Linked DNA regions of Homo sapiens: region 1 is linked to region 2. The links are contacts of gene promoters, found by promoter capture Hi-C in blood cells and fetal thymus (Javierre and others, 2016). All regions are on one chromosome and are shown on one strand. The core of a region is centred on a gene start or on the middle of the fragment in contact, and the rest is flanking DNA. Distances in the headings are between cores, read along the strand shown.

Region 1 (2,700 bases), core at 201-2,700, 150 kb after region 2:
AGGTTATTCTTAAGCATGTCTCCCTTACCTAATGGAGATCCAGGGTAATGCATATACTGTATAACCTGTGCTGATTAAGTGCCAGGCACAATTCGAAACACTTTGCAGGTATTAATCGCAAGTTTATAAGGTATGTACTATTTGTATCTTGATTTTAAAGTGAGGAAACTGAAGCCTAGAGAAGTCATAAGTTACTTGTCTAGGCCTCACAGCTAGTAAATGCAGAGCTGGAATAGTCTCCTGGTTCTCTTTTTCATGACACTGTCTGCTATCCTATTGCAGGAAGCAGGGTGGGCTCATCTCAGCCCTTTTTACTCATTTAGTGTCTTTGGGCAAGTCACCCAGCTCCCCAAACTCCATCTTCCCTGTCTACGGGACAAAAGGCTTCCTGTACCTATTTCACAGGCTGTGGGGGAAGGAAGAGCACGTAGAATGAGTGGATAGAGCTCTTTATGAACTGCAACACCAATGTGGGGTGCCGAGTTGGTTCCAGGGGGTAAATGGCTGCATCCCAAAACCAAATAGCTCTGATTTGTGGATCTGCTTTACATGATCATTCTTTCTTTTTTTTTTTTTCTTTTTTGAGATGGAGTCTCGCTCTGTCACCCAGGCTGGAGTGCAGTAGTGCAATCTCAGTTCACTGCAACCTCTGCCTCCCGGCTTCAAGCGATTCTCCTGCCTCAGCCTCCCAAGTAGCTGAGATCACGGGCACGTGCCACCATGCCTGGCTAATTTTTTGAATTTTTAGTAGAGATGGGGTTTCACCATGTTGGTCAGGCTGGTCTCAAACTCCTGATCTTAGGTGATCTGCCTGCTTTGGCCTCCCAAAGTGCTGCGATTACAGGTGTGAGCCACCGTGCCCTGCCATGATCACCATTCTTTTAACATGTTGGTGATTGTATACATAAGTAACAATCGACTCTACTAGGAAAAATGTATTCCCACAAGAGGGAAATTATCCCATATTCTGTACATGATATCACTTTAGTTAAAATAGAAATAATGTCTTTCTAAACTCACATTCCTCTAGCATTCCTACTCCTACCTTCCAGACCTAACCACTGCTATTCAGCCACCTGAGCTGGAGTGCAATGGTGGGATGTCGGCTCACTGCAACCTCCGCCTCCCTGGTTCAAGCGATTCTCGCTTGAAACGATTTCCGTGCCTCAGCTTCTCGAGCAGCTGGGATTACAGGCGTGCACCACCACGCCTGGCTAATCTTTTGTTAGAGACGGGGGTTTCACCATGTTGGCCAGGCTGGTCTCGAACTCCTGAGCTCAGAACTCCTGAGCTCAGGCAATTAGCCCGCCTCGGCCCCCCAAACTGCTGTGATTACAGGCGACAGTCAGCCTGTATTTATAGGCGCCTGGCCTATACTTAGATTCTCTTTTGCTCTCCAGATAGCCTTTTGCCTTGAACCCGCCTCACCTGTTTGGAACTGCCACACCTCCAGACTTCAACCTGGGGCCGGGGTGCCTCAGGTGTGCCTGCAGGGAAGAAAAAAGAAAGCAGAGACATCGAGATCTAGATTCTCTCCTCAAAGAAAAAAAAATCCTCCTCGTGGGAAGTGGGTGCTGATTTAAACATCAAAGACAACAGGTAAACGTCCATTGTGACCTTCCACGCTGTAGCTAGGCTGACAGCAACACTATGGGGTCCTCAGCAATTGCCGCCTCCCGCCTTCCTGCGCCCCCAAATGCCCCTTTCACCTGTTTCTCTCTGCAGCCCTCAAACACATTTGACCTAAATTTCCTGAGCTCCTGGTTTACATGTGAATGCACAGCACGGCAATTTGTTCCAATGAGGAGCCCTGAGGTTTGCGCCAGCCGCTCTCAGGGGTAAGTTTTGTGCCGAGCAGGATGTTCAAGACAGACTGCGCGCCGGTTTCGGGCACCGCCGAACATGGCTTCCCTGTTCCGTTTCTAATTTACAGCCTGAAGGTAAAAAGTACACTGATTAAATCCATGTTAGGAGGAGCAGCGGGGGCGGAATAAGCGAGCTGGGGAGGCGGCCGCGGGGCTGCCTGTTGCCCAGCAACGATGCCAGCCGCGGCCTGTGCTCCCCCAAAAGCCCGAAAGCACCGCGGCAGGCAGCCAGGAAGGAGGATGGGGCAGGGGTGCCGGCGGCTAAAGGAGATGGGGGCGCAGAAACCCCTATAGGGACCCATGCAACCCGCTTTCTCACCCTGGGAGACTACGCAAGGCTTTTTTGTTTTTTTTTTTTTGTTTTTTTGATACTTATGTTCGAAATCAAAAAGTGCACTGATCGAATCCGTATTAGGAGGATATGATTTAATCAGTGTACCGTTTAAATCCCCCCACACCCCTCCCCCCGACTGCCCTCTCTCCCACTTCTCATTGGCCAGCAACTTTCCAACAAAGGCCCAGTGGCAAAGACAGCCAGCCTTTCCCTGCCTGGCTGGTCAGTTTCTTTCTGAAAGAAGCAAAAGGCTCAGCTCCAGCTTTCGGGCCTAACTGCTCAGCAGGGCAAGTCAAAGTCCCTGTGGCTGGCCCAGAGGGCCTGGTAAGCTGGAGAAGCTGCGAATGGCGAAGCGTAGGTACCAGCTTTCACCATTAGGACAGCGCCCTCTGCTGGCAGTATCCTGAAGGGTCAGTTCACCGGGCTTCTGGTCCCCACAAAGTCTTGAAGTCTGAGGTGCTGATAACGGAACAAATGTGGTGAGCTCATTCTTGCCCTCTG
Region 2 (2,700 bases), core at 18-2,517:
AAAAGCAGGGGGCAGGCAGGGCCCAAGAATCCTGCTGCCCATGAGCCCTTACTGGGAGGTGGGGTGGCCTTGCACAGGGCCCAGGCACCTGAGTGAGTGGTGGGGTCCTTACGTTCACTGCTGGGGTGAGGCAATGAGCACCTTATTGTGTCCACATGAATTCAATAAAAAACAAGCAGGGCGGGTGGTGGGGCACTGACTAGGAGGGCTGATTTGTAAGTTGGTAAGACTGTAGCTCTTTTTCCTAATTAGCTGAGGATGTGTTTAGGTTCCATTCAAAAAGTGGGCATTCCTGGCCAGGCATGGTGGCTCACACCTGTAATCTCAGAGCTTTGGGAGACTGAGGTAGGAGGATCACTTGAGCCCAGGAATTTGAGATGAGCCTAGGCAACATAGTGAGACTCTTATCTCTATCAAAAAATAAAAATAAAAATGAGCCAGGCATGGTGCGGTGGCACGCACCTACTGCTAGGGGGGCTGAGGTGGGAGGATCACTTGAGCCTGGGAGGTTGAGGCTGCAGTGATCCCTGATCACAACATTGCATTTCAGCCTGGGTGACAGAGTGAGACCCTGTCTCAGAAAAAAAAAAAAAAAAGTCATTCCTGAAACCTCAGAATAGACCTACCTTGCCAAGGGCTTCCTTATGGGTAAGGACCTTATGGACCTGCTGGGACCCAAACTAGGCCTCACCTGATACGACCTGTCCTTCTCAAAACACCTAAACTTGGGAGAACATTGTCCCCCAGTGCTGGGGTAGGAGAGTCTGCCTGTTATTCTGCCTCTATGCAGAGAAGGAGCCCCAGATCAGCTTTTCCATGACAGGACAGTTTCCAAGATGCCACCTGTACTTGGAAGAAGCCAGGTTAAAATACTTTTCAAGTAAAACTTTCTTGATATTACTCTATCTTTCCCCAGGAGGACTGCATTACAACAAATTCGGACACCTGTGGCCTCTCCCTTCTATGCAAAGCAAAAAGCCAGCAGCAGCCCCAAGCTGATAAGATTAATCTAAAGAGCAAATTATGGTGTAATTTCCTATGCTGAAACTTTGTAGTTAATTTTTTAAAAAGGTTTCATTTTCCTATTGGTCTGATTTCACAGGAACATTTTACCTGTTTGTGAGGCATTTTTTCTCCTGGAAGAGAGGTGCTGATTGGCCCCAAGTGACTGACAATCTGGTGTAACGAAAATTTCCAATGTAAACTCATTTTCCCTCGGTTTCAGCAATTTTAAATCTATATATAGAGATATCTTTGTCAGCATTGCATCGTTAGCTTCTCCTGATAAACTAATTGCCTCACATTGTCACTGCAAATCGACACCTATTAATGGGTCTCACCTCCCAACTGCTTCCCCCTCTGTTCTTCCTGCTAGCATGTGCCGGCAACTTTGTCCACGGACACAAGTGCGATATCACCTTACAGGAGATCATCAAAACTTTGAACAGCCTCACAGAGCAGAAGGTGAGTACCTATCTGGCACCATCTCTCCAGATGTTCTGGTGATGCTCTCAGTATTTCTAGGCATGAAAACGTTAACAGCTGCTAGAGAAGTTGGAACTGGTGGTTGGTGGCAGTCCAGGGCACACAGCGAGGCTTCTCCCCTGCCACTCTTTTTTCTGAGGGTTTGTAGGAAGTTTCCTCAGTTGGAGGGAGTGAGAGCTGCTCATCAAGGACTTCTCTGTCCGGTTGGAGGTTAACTCTGTCTCTTGCTCTCTCATTTCTGCCTGGACCAAGACTCTGTGCACCGAGTTGACCGTAACAGACATCTTTGCTGCCTCCAAGGTAAGAAGCCGTCCCACGGTCTGTTTTAGCAAATGGGGAGATCCATCCCCAAATGTCTGAACAAGAAACTTGTCTAATGGAAAACGAGCGGGCCCAAATTAACTCTAAGGTGTTAGATGTTTTCAAAGAACGAGAAGTCTGATCTTTACTCTTAAGCATGTTTTGGTCTTTCTGGTTTCACTTGATTTAGAAGACATGTAATAGAAAGCTTACATGCTGTAGTCCTGACTCAGATCCTGGTCAAAGAAAAGCCCTCTTGGGTTTTACTTAGCTTTGGCATAGTGCCTGGAACGTAGGAGGCACTCAATAAATGCCTGTTGAATGAGAGAATTTTTCTGGCCCATACATTTCTGAAAAACCAAATACTCTCACAGAAACAGATATTGAGATGACAGGTTGAGGGAGCTTTCATTTTGTCTAAGAGACTTCCTATGGCAACAGAAAAGGTATCGCCAGAGCCCCTCCTCTTCCACAGCCTGGCCACCTAACAGCCCTCTGGGTTCCGGGGCTGGCCGTCCAGAGCTCCTCAGCTTGCTCTGGCCGGCCGAACTCCCCTCCAGCTCGGTCTGGAACCATCCTGCTGGGCAGCGTCCAGCACATCCCTGCTTCGGGCTGCCTGGGCACCTCGCCTCTCTGCCTCCTGTGCTGCCTCACCCCCACCCCTCTATCTGTAGTGGGAGGAGATAGATTTGACAGCTGATAGTGCATTTTCTCTGACAAACACATGACTACAGCCGTATCAATAGTTTTGTGCATTTCAGTTCCTGTTTTCATGGAAACACACGGCTGAGAATGAAAGCCCCAAAGCCTCAATTTCACAGTGGTCTCCTAACTACCTGCTTTCCATGCAAACTAGGGAGATGATATGGCCAGGAGTGAAGCCCTGTGTGTTGGGCAGGGTCACACTCCAGCACC

Evidence for each region. Contacts are between HindIII fragments. The CHiCAGO score rates a contact against its expected background, and 5 or more counts as called.
Region 1: a contact is called between a fragment that was not itself captured here and the fragment with the promoter of IL4 in region 2, in 1 of 17 cell types (endothelial precursors). The highest score is 5.2, in endothelial precursors.

The regions. Positions count from the first base shown.
Region 1 is chr5:132,817,721-132,820,420 of GRCh38, forward strand. No RefSeq gene overlaps it. Among named protein-coding and RNA genes, the nearest start is that of SOWAHA, 5.8 kb to the left of the region's middle. RefSeq lists a silencer at 2,568-2,647. The HindIII fragment of the contact is 2,985 bases long and covers 1-2,700 here.
Region 2 is chr5:132,672,722-132,675,421 of GRCh38, forward strand. It overlaps IL4 (interleukin 4), which reads left to right and starts at 1,268. Exons shown (of 4, transcript NM_000589.4): 1 at 1,268-1,464; 2 at 1,738-1,785. The coding sequence starts at 1,330. The HindIII fragment of the contact is 7,466 bases long and covers 1-1,991 here.